Linked DNA regions of Homo sapiens: regions 2, 3 and 4 are each linked to region 1. The links are contacts of gene promoters, found by promoter capture Hi-C in blood cells and fetal thymus (Javierre and others, 2016). All regions are on one chromosome and are shown on one strand. The core of a region is centred on a gene start or on the middle of the fragment in contact, and the rest is flanking DNA. Distances in the headings are between cores, read along the strand shown. Region 1 holds the start of ASTL (astacin like metalloendopeptidase). Region 2 overlaps KANSL3 (KAT8 regulatory NSL complex subunit 3). Region 3 overlaps KANSL3 (KAT8 regulatory NSL complex subunit 3). Region 4 has its middle 27 kb from the start of ARID5A.

Region 1 (3,593 bases), core at 411-2,910:
GAGCCTGACTTTTGTTTTTTGTTTTTTGTGAGATGCTCTGTCGCCCAGGCTGGAGTGCAGTGGCGCAATCTCAGCTCACTGCAAGCTCCGCCTCCCAGGTTCATGCCATTCTCCTGCCTCAGCCTCCTGAGTAGCTGGGACTACAGGCGCCCGCCACCACGCCCGGCTAATTTTTGTATTTTTGGTGGGGACGGGGTTTCACTGTGTTAGCCAGGATGGTCTCGATCTCCTGACCTCATGATCTGCCCGCCTCAGCCTCCCAAAGTGCTGGGACTACAGGCGAGAGCCACCGCACCCAGCTGAGCTTCAGACTTCTTAATCACACCTGCAGACAGTCCTGCACAGGGTGGCTGACAATCTCAGACTGCGACTAACCGCTTAGCTCCACGCCCAGGCCCTTTAAGAGCTTGGTTTTTCTTATAAAAGTAACAATCCACTAAGAAAGATACAAAAAGAAAGAGTAGACTTAAGCAATTGCCCATAGAATTTCCACCCATTCACACCTGTAGTCCCAGCTGCTCGGGAGGCAGAGGCAGGAAGATCACTTAAGGCCAGGAGTTCAAGACCAGCCGGGGCAATATAGCAACACCACTCCATCTCTTAAAAACCACTTAGAGCCCAGAGTAAGCTGGTCCATTTCCTCCCAGGCTCTGCATTTCTGAGTGTTCGGTGTGGTTTTCACACTACATAACGTCGTGCCCCTCCAGGCCGTGAGAAGATGTAGTGCCCTCACCTTGGTTAATTGCAGGAATGTCCTTGTCCCCGGAGGCCTGGGTTCCCTCAGGGGTGAGGCCATCTGGGAAGCTGGTACCACAGGCTCCTGCGCAGCTGGAGGCCAGGGGCGCTCCTAGGATCACACCTGGTCCAGACAGACAGGGGCATACACAGATGCCTGGAGCACCCACCGGTGAGACCAGACAGCAGGACATGGGGTGGGTGTGGGGGATCAGACGGTAAGACTCAGTCCCTAGGAAGAGTAGGCTCCAGCACAAAGCCAAGGAGCCTTCCCAGCCTCCCTGCTCAACCCCAACTGGTGCCAAGGTCTAGATGACCTCAGGGAAGGAGCTCCCTTAGGGGGACCAAAAGGGACCATGTGCCCCACCTATGAGGTAGAGGAGGGGCAGGAAGGAAGGAGGCAGGACAGACCTCGGGTTCTGACGCCCGTGACGGGCAGGGCCAGCCTCAGACCCCACCTTATGACTCTCTCTCAGCCCAGGCTCTTGGACAATGGGCTCAGCCTGGATGACTCCCTGCCTGACCAGGCTGGAGTGGGGACTTACAGCCTACCCCCACCCCAAGACAAGTAGGCCTGGGGCACAACACTTATCTTCTGCCAGGCAGGCCCTCTGCTTCCAGGGCCTTCAGGAGGCCTCCCCTTGGCCCCCCAGGAGCTGACTTCTAGAATAACCCTGGAGAGCTCTGTGCTCTGAGCTACTGAGCTCAGCTACAATCCCTGCAGGCTCCAGCCACAACCTTCTAGCCTCTCCCCAGCTTTCTCCAGGCTGGAGCCAGCAGCAGGAGGGACAGGCAGCCAGCTTACCTGGCAAGGAGAGCAGACCCAGCACCCAAGGCCAGAGACCCCCTACACCCTCCATGGTAGAGCCCTGCTGCCCCTTCAGCAAACAAGACCAAGCCCCAGCAAGACACAGTAACCTAATTGCAGAACCGGCACCACCACCCCCTCTTAAATAGCAGCTGCTCCACCTCCCACCTTGCTCCCCTCAACCGCCTCCACCTGCAGCCCCGCCCCAACCACCTCCACCTGCAGCCCCGCCCCAACCATCTCCACCTGCAGCCCCGCCCCAACCACCTCCACCTGCAGCCCCGCCCCAACCAGCTCCACCTGCAGCCCCGCCCCAACCAGCTCTACCGGCAGCGCCACCCAAACCAGGTCTACTGGCAGCCCCTCCGATGCCTACCTGTGGTTCCCACCCCAGCCCAGTCCCCTTCCTGGCTGTAGCAGGTGAAAGACAGGAGGGGCCCGCTTGGGAGTGTGGCTCTTCTGAGGTTCCTTCCTGCCTCCAGGGGGCAGAGAAACATCGCAGAAAGTTGCTCCAGGCCTAGCTGAGGCCCCAGCCCAGGTATAGACCTATTCCTCCAGCGAGGGAGACCCCCTTTCCTACCCCGGCCTGTGCTTAGACATGGGGAAAGCTGCCTGAGACCCTGGGGCGCCCCCCGTGTATCTCCGGAAGGAGGAAAAGGTCACTGCACTTTCACAAGCTTTTATTTTAGTACACATATAGAAAAGTTCACTATCACAAGCACAGGGCTCCAGGAAATTTCACAAACTGAACAGTGTGCAGCACCCTAGAAAGCCTGCCATGTGGGAAAGGTGGAACCCCCAGATGCCCAGAGCCTCGCAGGGAGTCCACCCCCTAATCCCACAGCAGCTGGCATGATCAGTCAGTATTTATTCCCATTTCACAGATTTGGAAATTTAAACTCCTTACCTATATCCCCCCTCCTCCATACCCCTGAGCCCCAGAGCCAGGTCACTCAGGGCCCCACCTGGATTGAAATCCCAGAGGCGGAGCATGTCAGCGCTGGGCAGCATTTGGGGACACCCCCACAGTCACCTGCACCCAGTGAAGGGAAGCGACAGAGCCAAGAAGAATAGCTATTGTCCACAAGGACCTTTCAGCATTCCCACTGTGCCTGGAATCCAGAGCTTCTCCAAAGATAGGAATCAGAATCACAGGGAGACCATGATGGAGGCAGACGCCCTGCTGCCAGGGCAGGGTATTGACAGATGTCAGGATACACACCATGGATATGCTAGTTAGCTTGTTGTGGTCATCATTTCACAAGGTATGCATATGTCAAAACATCACGTTGTATACTTAAACATATACTACTTTTATTTGTCGATTATGCCTCAGTAAACCTAGAAAAAATAAGTAAAATAAAGAATAGGACCCATCAAAAAACAAATGCACAAGGCTGACCACTTAAGATGAGTGTTCAGGAGGGCGCGGTGGCTCACGCCTATAATCCCAGCACTTTGGGAGGCCAAGGCAGGTGGATCACGAGGTCAGGAATTCAAGACCAGACTGGCCACCATGGTGAAACCCCATCTCTACTAAAAGAATACAAAAATTAGCTGGGCACGGTGGCGGGCACCTGTAATCCCACCTACTCGGGAGGCTGAGGCAGGTGAATCACTTGAACCCAGAGGTGGAGTTTGCAATGAGCCAAAATCGCGCCACTGCACTCTAGCCCGGGGGACAGAGTGAGACTCCATCTCAAAAAAAAAGATGAATGTTCAGTAAAAAAAAATAAAGTAGACCGGGCGCAGTGGCTCATGCCTGTAATCCCAGCATTTTGGGAGGCCAAGGCAGGCAGATTACTTGAGGTCAGGAGTTCGAGACCAGCCTAGCCAACACGGTGAAACCCCATCTCTACTAAAAATACAAAAATTAGCCAGAAATCCCTTGAACTCAGGAGGCAGAGGTTGCAGTGAGCCAAGATTGTGCCACTGCACTCCAGCCTGGGCAACAGAGTGAGACTCTGTCTCAAAAAACAAAAGAATTAAAATAATGATAAGAAATAATCACCCTGCTTGGGGAGAGAAACAGAGTCTTTATTAGGACATG
Region 2 (3,593 bases), core at 650-3,149, 490 kb after region 1:
TTATGCTTTGCAGTTATATCTCTCCTTATAAATTAAGAAACTCAGCCAAGTGCAGTGGCTCACACCTATAATCCTAGCACTTTGGGAGGCAAAGGTGGGCAGACCACTTGAGCCAGGAGTTTGAGACCAGCCTAGGCAACATGGTGAAACCCAATCTCTACAAAAACTACAAAAATTAAGAAATGGTGACGTACTCCTGTAGTCCCAGCTACTTGGGAGGTTAAGGTTCCCACCCGGGAGAATCACCTGAGTCCTGGAGGTCAAGGCTTGTAGTGAGCTGAGATCGTGCCACTGCACTGCAGTCTGGGTGACAGAGTGAGACCCTGTCTCAAAAAAAAGAAAAAAGAAACAAACTGGTATTTATAGTATTATTAAGTCTCTAATGACTTTGATAAGTATGAATTGTCCACAAAAACCTCTTAATCATAACCATGGATAAACTGACAAAAAAAAAAAAAATCACACAGTTCTCCTATGTACTTTCTGAAATTGCAAAGGACAAGGTAGTAGAAAATACCACAAAGGGATACATAACCATACCAGGCCACCTTGTTCAGCCACCACTAACTGGTCTTAATCTCTTCTTACTGCCCTTAATTAAGGCAGAGGGTATGGTAGTTGAGAACACTGGGTTCTGGAGTCAGGCTGCTTGGTTTGAACAAAATCCTTCTCCATCACTTCCTAATTAAGGTTTCTTAAACACCCTGAGCTCAGTTTCTTCATCCTGTTGAGCAGAGATGAAGGGGGGATATACCTCCAAGAGTCATTGGGAGGATTAAGAGACAATGCATTTGAAGAGACATTGATACAATGTCTGGCACCTAGAAAGCACTCAACAAACGGTAGCTCCTTTTTGTTATTACCATCGTCGTTATTTTTTATTATTAACTGTAAAAATAGTGATAAATCCTTTTGCTGAATATACTGACTCTAGCAATATTCCAGTAGTTGATCTTCATTCGTAGCAGTTTTCTTCTTTATCTGAAGCTCAAAAGAGCTTTTTTTTCTTTTTTTGAGATGGTGTTTCACTCTTGGTGCCCAGACTGGAGTGCAATGGCACGATCTCGGCTCACCACAACCTCCGCCTCCCAGGTTCAAGTGATTCTCCTGCCTCAGCCTCCCGAGTAGCTGGGATTACAGGCATGCGCCACCACACCCAGCTAATTTTGTATTTTTAGCAGAGACAGAGTTTCTCCATGTTGGTCAGGCTGGTCTTGAACTCCCGACCTCAGGTGATCCACCCGCCTCAACCTCCCAAAGTACTGGGATTACAGGCGTGAGAAAAGAGCTTCTTAAGGCACTAAATTAATTCCAATGCAAGACCCCAACCAACTTCTTCACAAGCTTTTTCAACCAAGGTGCAGAACTGCTCCTCCCTCAACAGCTGCTGTTTTGATCACACAAGCACACCTGTTCAATCTCATTCCCAACTTCCAACCAGCTTCAGAAGTCATGTCAATCACCTCAAACTTTCTACCCCTCTTTCTCTCTATTATAAAATAAGGGTTCTCCAAAATTATGGAAAGTTACCACCTACCAACTCCTGATATAAGAAGTAACATTTCCTTATATATATAGTAGATATATGGATACACAGACAAAAAGCCATCAACAAAATATAAGTTGAAACCACAATGAGATGCCACTTTACACGCAGTAGAATGGTTATAATTTTTTTAAAAAAGAAGAAAATCAGTAAGTGTTGGCAAGGATATGGAGAAACTAGAACTCTCATACACTGCTGGTAGGAATGTAAAATGGTACAGCCACTTTGGAAAACAGTCTGGCAATTCCTCAAAGGTTAAATACAGAGTTATCATATGACCCAACAAGTCCACTCCCAGGTATATAACTAAGAGAATTAAAAACTTAGATCCACACAAAAACTTGTATGCAAATGTTCATAATAGCATTATTCACAATTGCCAAAAAATGAAAACAATCTAAATATCTATCAACTGATTAATGAATAAATAAAATGTGGGCTATCCATACAATGTAATGTCATTTGGCAATAAAAAGCATGAAGTGCTGATACACGCAACCACATGGATAAACCTTGAAAACATCATGCTGGGTGAAAGAAGCCAGTAGGAAAAGACCACATATTGCATGATTCCATTTATATGAAATGTCCAGAATAGGCAAATCTATAAAGACAAAAGTCAATTAGTGCTTCCTAGGGACCAGAGAAGCTGGGAGGAAACGGGAAGTAACTGTTTATGGGTAAGAGGTTTCTTTTTAGGATGATGAAAATGTTTATCAAATTGATAGTGGTGATGAATATACAACTCTGACTATACTAAAAACCAATGACTGTACATATTAAATAGCTGAATTGTATGGTATGTAAATAATATCCCCAAAAAGCTGTTATGTAATTAGGTAAATGTTTACCAAATGAACAGGGACAAATAACCAGGAGAGGAGTGCTGAGTCCCCTGGGGGCAGTAGAAAGCTTGGGAACAAAACTAGCCAGTATACTCGTGAAAATAGGCTTCAGTGTGCCCTCCATAGCCTGCAAATCTATTTTTAAAAGCCACTCAAACATCTGTTAGCTTTTCATGTGACTTCACAACTTCCATCATCCTAGTTATAAACCATTTAAACACAATATCTTACAAATGTACATTTCATTTTTTTGCAGTTTGGGTAACCCCTATATCATAACTTATACAACAGAAGCTACTACAGAGCTAGTCATATGTATCAAATTTAATTCACTTATTTATTCAACAAACATTATATGCCTACTGTGTGCCAGACAACGTCCTAGTGTGAAGTATGCAAAGATGGCTGAGATGTAAGCCCTACTCTCAAGGAGCTCACACACAGCATGGTGAACTGAGAGTTATAATGTGAGACTTTGGAGAACACTCTGACTTGTGTTGCTGCAAATGAAATAAGGTCCTAATAAGTGTTATTTCAATGAAGATGATACAAAATAATTACAGGGCAGTGATCATCCTCCTGATGAGCAGCCTACCTGTTGACATGCTCCTCCCAGTCCTCTGGTGGAGGAGGGGCATCTGCATCAGTCCTGGCAAAGATGACATGCCGTTCACACTCATTCATCACGCTGCGTGCCTTCTGATTGTCATAGAGTGGCATAGGCGTTGATGTGACCGTCTCCACATCTATTGGGACGTCTGATTCACTGTAAACAGGTGAGGAAATAGGACCGGGCCACACATACTTCACAGGTATTTAACAATCATCTGGTTGACAAAAAATGTATCTTTAATACAGTCAGCTTTAAATTACGCATAAGCACATTATATTCACAAGAAAATTTTGATCCAAAGTCATCTTTCCCACACTTGTCTAGATCTCTGCCCTCTCAGACATGATGGTATGTACTGGAAGAACACAAAGTCATTTTTTCAATGAGTCTATATAAAAAATGATAAACATCTATTTTTTTTTTAAGATAAATATGGGCCAGGTGCACTGGCTCACACCTGTAATACCACCACTTTGGGAAGCCGAGGCAGGTGGATTGCTTGAACTCAGGAGTTCAAGACCAGCCTGGGCAACATGAGGAAACCCTGTCTCTACCAAAAATACAAAAATTAGCTGGGCATGTGGCACAC
Region 3 (3,593 bases), core at 722-3,221, 470 kb after region 1:
CTCATTTTTCTTTTCTTTGCTTATGACTGAGACCTACCAGAGGCCCCAGTGGAGGCCTTAGAGCCAAAGAGACCACTACCAATAAGACCAAACCTAAAAGGCTACAGAAAGGCAAGCCTAGCTGAGAAAAGCACACAAAACAACTGTTTACCTGAATACATCTGTCCACCATGCTCTGAGTCAACCCTTCTGATTTCTTCTTTGCTTTGCTTATTCTAAGAAACAAAAAGGATGACATGTTTACTTCTTACACATTGCACGGCATCCTATGAAAATAAGAACGTATTTCTTTTCTGGGTTGTTTATTTTCTAGCCCCAGAAGGAGGGCCATGTTAGCCTTAGGCAGGTAATGCAACCTCTCCGAACCTGTTTCCGTGTCTGCAAAATGGGGAATCATAACATCCCATTCATGGAGTTGTGGGGATTAAACAAAATAACATATGTAAAGAAACCAAGCACAGTGCCCAGGACAGTCCGCTCCAGAATTCCTATACCTATAGCTTAATAGATCAACTCTATCCAGAACTCAGGAGGCGGAGGTTGCAGTGAGCTGAGATTGCACCACTGCAGTCCAGCATAGGCGACAGAGCCAGGCGCCACCTCAAAAAAAAAAAAAAAAAAAAAAAAAAAAAAGCTCAAGGTCGTGAAAGACAAAGATGGAGGAACTCTATCAAATTAAAGGAGACTGAGGAGACATGGCAACTAAATCCAAGTGTGATCCTGGGCTGGATGCTGGACCAGAAAAATGACATTAGGGAAACAACTGATGAAACATGAGTCTGTAAATTACAGTATCATGTAGATGTTAATTTCTTGATTTTGAGAATTACACTTTGGCTATGTAAGATGTTTAACATTTAGAAAATCAGGTGAAGGGTATATAGGAATTGTTTTGTACTAGTGTTATAACTTTTTATAAATCTGAAATTTCAAATATTAAAAAAGGTTTTTTTAATGCTGTCTTTTTTTAATTTTTTTTTTTTTTTGAGACAGAGTCTTGCTCTGTCACCCAGGCTGGAGTGCAGTGGCGGGATCTCGGCTCACTGCAAGCTCCGCCTTCTGGGTTCACACCATTCTCCTGCCTCAGCCTCCCGAGTAGCTGGGACTACAGGCGCCCGACACCAGGCCTGGCTAATTTTTTGTATTTTTAGTAGAGACGGGGTTTCACCGTGTTAGCCAGGATGGTCTCAATCTCCTGACCTCGTGATCCGCCTGCCTCAGCCTCCCAAAGTCCTGGGATTACAGGCGTGAGCCACCGCGCCCGGCTAATGCTGTCTTTTAACTGAACCAGACTGGTCTGTAGTTACATTGCCAGCTTCCAGGCTTATCTCTAACACTGTAACACAGCTCTCTTGCAGCTCTGGGAGAATCCACCCACCTGAGATTGTCATCAGCTCCCCCAACCACCACCAAGCTGTTCTCAGCTCGAATCTTCTCCCGGAAGTCCTCCATGGCTTCAGGGTGACATTGAAGGGAATTCTGACCAATGACAAAGAGGACTGGAGTCTTCATATCCAAGAGGGGATCATCTACATCCTAAAACAGGTATAGGTTTTAGAATCGGCTTCTTCATATTCACAAAGCACTGACCCAGAAACTCCACTAAGGAGGATCAGCCATGCAACTGCAGTCAGCCTCAGCATCAGCTTGGACAAGGCATGCACACTCGCGCTCCCACTGCCAATGACCCAGCACTCAGCTTTACCACATTCTTACCCCTCTGGGGCCATCCACAGTAAGCAGAGGAAACCCAAGGCAGACAACTGCAGTGACATACTCCATTACTGACACCTGTAAATAACAGAACAGTTTGTCTAAACGTCAACTGAGTTCATGGCACCTCAGCCTACCCAGAATCCAGGAGTGGTCCAGACCCACCAGACAGTCTCACCTCTTCCTCTCCTGTCCTAATATCCGGGTGCATCTTCTGCCACAATGGCAGCAGTAAGAGCACAAGACACAAGGTATGTCATTCCATAAGCAGCCACTACCTAGAGAACTGGGGCCCTAAGAGGACCCCAGCAGGTGGCTGAACCATAGGATAGAAGGTTCAGTATTCCTACCCTGTCAACCCCCTCAACTAGAGCCCTCCTGCTCCATTTTTCTCCACAAATAGTAAATATAGTCAAGAGAACACAATGTTGCCATTAACCCTTAAGTGAAAAAAAATTCTCTCTATTGAACTTAATGGATAGCTACCAGACAGCCTAGATTTCTTGGAGCAAACTGCTAAGGCCTAACACCCTGGGAGCAGGGACTATGGGGACCTTCTTCCTCTCATAGCTATCACACTTGATTGGACTGCATGAAGCAAAATTAAGGGTTTGGACATGAGGGACACTTACACAAACTGACAGACATACAAATATATGTAAAATACGAAAAGATTCCTTGATGTCTTGGAAAAAGACTGAAATGAACACAGCATCAAATTCCAGAGCTATTAATATTTGCCAGCTACAATTACTGTTGTTTTTTAGGTGGGAGAACAGTATGGTACTTATGTTTAGAGAAAAAAAGGGATCTTTTTTTTTTTTCCACAGATATATACCCATATGTGTGTGTGTGTGTGTGTGTGTGTGTGTGTGTGTATGTGAAAATGCTATTATATTTGGGATTTTCTTCAAAACAATCTAGGGGAGAAAGAAAATGAGCAGGGTGAGATGAAACAAGCCCAGCCAAGAGTTGATCACTGGTAAAGCTGGGTGAGGATCCGGGGGTTTATTATACTACACCTGCTTTTGTTTCTGCTTAAAGTTTTCCAAAATAAATTAAAAATTGTTTTAATAAAATTTGTCTTCTACAGTTTAAAATGTAATTATATAGGTAAAGTATCTAGCGCAGAGCCTGACACACAGTAAAGGACTCAATGGTAGCTATGATTAGTGGTATTCCATCCCAGGACAACCTCCAAATAAGATAGAAATTACTTACATGACAGGCCACCAAAGCTCCTGTGTTCCAGCCAATCAAGATAATGGGTTTGTGTGGGAAATGGCTGTGAATCTTCATGGGAAGAGAAAGAAGACAGTAAGACAGGAGGCCAAAGATAGGTGCAGAACAACCCCAGAATGCTGGGTATGCCACAATGTACTGAAATACGGGCATTCTCACCTCCAGCACTTTGCTTCTCACTGCCCCAATCATATGCTCGAGACACTGTAGAACTCCTACCCCACTGCCATTGTTCAGCAGATGGGTGGCTACAGGGATGACCTGAAGGAAAGAAGTAGCCCCCACACCAGCAGAGGTAAGTTTCAAATCTTTCAATTCTGTTTAACCTAACCTAAACCCAAAACCTTGGAATTCCACATGAAAGAAGGATTAGAGGAGGCTCCACATGAAAGAAGGGTTAGAGGAGGCTCCACATTCAAGTTACCCATTTTGACCTCCTCCCACATATTCTTCTCCTCAATCCTCCAAGACTATATTCCCTGCCAGGAAGGAGTTCCTCTTGCCCCCACACATACCTTGCCCAAGCAGGACAGCTGAGATTGCCAGAAGCGGTGGCGGCGTGAAGTGGGAAACACAGAGCTGGAGGGACCAGAGGAGGCGATGAGAATCAGCGGAGAGCCAGGGAGTTTGCTCTAAAG
Region 4 (3,593 bases), core at 639-3,138, 430 kb after region 1:
AGAACTACTATACTTGAGAAATTATGCCCAAGAAGCCTCATCCACATCTGGTGACATCTTCAGGTAAATGATGACATCCTGGATTTTAAGCCAATGCTGGAAAGGGTAAGGCTTCTGGGGAATCTTTAAACAGGGTGAGTATATTCTGTATATGGGACTGTAGGCAGAATAACAGCCTCCTAAAGATGTCCACATCCTAATCCCCAGGACCTATGACTATATTAGGGGGCATGGCAAAGGGGAATTCCGGTTGCAGATGAAATTATGGTTGCTGGATATGAATAGACTATCCTGGATTGTCAAGAAAATACTGGGTGGGCCCAATGTCACATGAGCGTCCTTAAGAGTGGAAGAACAAGGTGGGAGAAAGAGACTCAAAAGGCAGCAGAGGAAGGACTTGGCCCAGCATTGCTGGCTTTGAAGACAGAAGAAGGAGCCACAAGCCAAGGAATGTGGGTGCCTCTTAGAAGCTGTAAGTCAAGCAGACAGATTCTCCCCTAGACCCTCCAGCAGGAACACAGTCCTACTGACACCTGATTCTAGCGCTGTGAGACCCATACTGGACTTCGGACCTCCAGAACTGCAATATAATAAATTCGTGTTGTTTTAGGTCACTAGGCTTGTGGTAATTTATTAGAGCAGAAATAGAAGACTAATACAGTGAGGGGTGTAAATAATCTGTGGCCAGCAGGCAGACTGTGGTAGCGGAAAATATGCCCACAAAATCTTGTACTCCTTTCAGAAAGTGGAGCCTAATTCCCTTCCTCTTGAGTGTGGGCTGGAATTAGTGACTCATCTAACTAATGAACTGATAAAATAAGGCAGAAGTGATGGTGTGTGACTTCTGATACCAGATCACAAAAGGAGCAGCTTAATGGAAGTCTGGGACAGCTCCCCATGCCATCGTGGGCTCAGAAATGGACGTACTAACTTAGGGACACCCATGTCAAACAAAGACCACACCAACAGCTTATGAAAACCAATGAGTGATTTGGAAATGATCAGAGGGATCTGATGAATGGTTTGTTTTACAACTTACATCACTTGGCAAGCAGTTTTATAAGAAATAGTTGTCCCTCAGTATACATGGGGAATTGGTTCCAGGACTCTCCCCCCATACCAAAATCCGTGCATGGCCAAGTCCAGAAGTTTGCCCTGCAGATCCCTCCTATATAAAAATTCTGCCCTCTGACGAGGCGAGTTTTTGCATCTTGAGAATACTGCATCTTCCACCTGTATTTGTTTGCAGATAGGGAATCAGTAAATACCAAGAGCCGACTACATCTTTTGAAAAAAATCAAAATATAAGCGGACCCAAGCGCTTCAAACCCATGTTGTTCAAGGGTCAACTGTGTTTATATTATTTAGAGAATAAAAAATATATATTTTATATTTAGATTATTGTAGTTATTACATATTTGACCATCACTCCTATGTAAATATTTCTTCCTTTCCAAACCCCTTGTTTCATCCCCTTCCTTTCCTTTTAAGCACTGGTCTCTGTGCACAGAATGCCAGGGATAGACTAACACAAACTGTCGTGAGAAACAGAAAGAAAAGCTGGCTGCTTCTCAGCACTTGTCAGTGGGACAACACAGGGCCATCCTTTGCCCTTTTTGGGAAGAAGGGAGGTCCTGAGAGTAGCCTTCTATGCAAATTGAGAACTTTGAGAAGTGGGTTGGTGGAATGATGTCCCTGTCCCTCTGAAGCAGGGTCCAGTCTCAGTGCCACAGTGCCCACCATGGAAACATGGCCCCAGGCCCATGACACTAGGACATGTCTCCTGCCTGGTTCCCTGGAGGGCGAGGCTGGGCCGTGACCGCCAGCTGTAGCATTCAAGTCTGGAAGCCTGGACCAACAATAGGTTTTGTGCCTGGTTTTGTGTGAATTTGCATCAACCTTGTTGCAGACTCCTTGACGCCTTCCCCTTCAAACACAGATGCCTGAGCCTTGGCCAGCTGATCAAATGCTTCTTTTGATCACTGACATCTTTGTGGCTGCAGTAGCCAGCCCATGGCCATCTCCAGAGTGGTCCAGTACTACCCGACCCCTGCCAGGGAGGGGCACCATCTAACTGGACTAATGGCGCTCAGTCAGGGTCATCGCTGTGCTCCGGGGAGACCCTGCATATCCCAGAGGATCCTAAATGTTTTCTGGAGTTGGAGAGAATTCCGAGAATCCTCCTCATAAATCCTTCTTTGGATATAAGCTAGCCAGATGTCGTTTCTGCCATTTGCCACTCCAACACCATCAGCCAGATATCCAGGTGTCCCAGATGGTGAACATTCAAGAGCCCCAGCCATGGGTCCAGGCAGCAGAGGCACGTCTATGGAGATAGGCTGGGCCTTGTCCCCTGCCAAGTCAGTGATGAGTGGGAGGACTCACTGGCCCTTGCACTGAGCAAGGCCACCTGACAGGCCAGCCTAATCACCCCCCTGTGGCCAATATAAGGATATTGATCTTTAGTGGCCAGAATCTCTCCTCCATCACTTTTTATGTATTTTGTTGTTGGTGGTGGTGGTGGGGTGTGTGTGTGTGTGTGTGTGATTTTCTGCCGAGTCCTTCATCTTGGATCCTCCACCACTTTTGCCAAGGAACACCTTCCAGCTCACAGGTAAGGGAAGAACTCTTTCCAGACAATAAGTCAGGAACCTCTGACTTGTGATGAGGAGAGGAGGGCTTGCCACATAGTGTAGAATTTAAGTCACTCCAGAATTTTCAGGACGATGGCTTTGGATCCAGCTACACTCAAGAACTAGGACCAAGAAGCAGATCTGATTGGTATTCCCTAGGGAAAACCTAGCCGTCATTTGCATGCAAACAATGCCTGGCATGTACGAGGCAGCCCTTTCAGGCTTCTCTGCCCCGTTGTTGGGCCCTGTCAAACCTGTGCTTGTATAGAAAGCAATGGGATGCTAAATCAGATAGAGTGGGATTAGAATTTGCATGAGAGAAAGGGAAAGGGAGGGGCAGGAACGAGGGAGAGAGCTGAAATCTGTCCTCCCTAGGAGAGTGGCTTCCATTGACAGGCAGGGAGAATGAGGGAAGGTCATCAGAAACACCAGATGCAAGTCTGTCACTGATGGCTACCCAATATCCTTGAGGGCATCTGGACCGCCCCCATTTTGGTCCTTTCCTATATTTTGAGTACCATCTTCCCAAGGGACAAGCTATAAAAACCTGCATTCCCAAACTCCCTTGCTGCCATTGAGCAGGCATGTGACTGAGATACCAACCAATCAGACATGCACACAGACTGGCAAAGGAGACACTGGAGGAAGTAGCCAAATGGATTTAATGGCCCAGAGGTCATGTCCTGATGGGTGAATGACAGCACAGCATCTAGTTTTCTATTCTTCTCTGCTTGTCTATTTGAACTCAAATTAATTCAGAATTTGTACCCTCTGGGAAAAGAAAAACTCACTGATATGAAATGTTTGAAAACTGTGAGTTTTCTTTGTTTATGCTTTTATTTATTTATTTATTTATTTATTTATTTATTGAGATGGAGTCTCACTATGTCGCCAAGCAGGAGTGCAGTGATGCAATCTTGGCTCAATGCGACTTCCACCTCCCAGGTTCAAGCAGTTTTC

What was found. Contacts are between HindIII fragments. The CHiCAGO score rates a contact against its expected background, and 5 or more counts as called.
Region 2: a fragment that was not itself captured here is called in contact with the fragment with the promoter of ASTL in region 1 in 1 of 17 cell types (naive CD8 T cells); the score reaches 5.0 in naive CD8 T cells.
Region 3: a contact is called between a fragment that was not itself captured here and the fragment with the promoter of ASTL in region 1, in 1 of 17 cell types (naive CD8 T cells). The highest score is 5.4, in naive CD8 T cells.
Region 4: a contact is called between a fragment that was not itself captured here and the fragment with the promoter of ASTL in region 1, in 8 of 17 cell types (total CD8 T cells, naive B cells, naive CD8 T cells and 5 more). The highest score is 7.7, in total CD8 T cells.

Annotation. Positions count from the first base shown.
Region 1 is chr2:96,136,842-96,140,434 of GRCh38, forward strand. ASTL (astacin like metalloendopeptidase) reads right to left here and starts at 1,661. Exons shown (of 9, transcript NM_001002036.4): 1 at 1,541-1,661; 2 at 734-859. The coding sequence starts at 1,595. RefSeq lists an enhancer at 1,516-1,585 and a silencer at 2,476-2,565. The HindIII fragment of the contact is 4,955 bases long and covers 1-2,218 here.
Region 2 is chr2:96,628,326-96,631,918 of GRCh38, forward strand. It overlaps KANSL3 (KAT8 regulatory NSL complex subunit 3), which reads right to left. Exons shown (of 21, transcript NM_001115016.3): 3 at 2,987-3,157. Among named protein-coding and RNA genes, the nearest start is that of KANSL3, 8.2 kb to the right of the region's middle. The HindIII fragment of the contact is 1,114 bases long and covers 1,343-2,456 here.
Region 3 is chr2:96,609,348-96,612,940 of GRCh38, forward strand. It overlaps KANSL3 (KAT8 regulatory NSL complex subunit 3), which reads right to left. Exons shown (of 21, transcript NM_001115016.3): 7 at 3,471-3,587; 8 at 3,115-3,216; 9 at 2,935-3,006; 10 at 1,717-1,791; 11 at 1,379-1,536; 12 at 152-215. Among named protein-coding and RNA genes, the nearest start is that of KANSL3, 27 kb to the right of the region's middle. The HindIII fragment of the contact is 9,937 bases long and covers 1-3,593 here.
Region 4 is chr2:96,562,418-96,566,010 of GRCh38, forward strand. No RefSeq gene overlaps it. Among named protein-coding and RNA genes, the nearest start is that of ARID5A, 27 kb to the left of the region's middle. RefSeq lists enhancers at 1,891-2,391, 2,462-2,962. The HindIII fragment of the contact is 4,621 bases long and covers 1-3,593 here.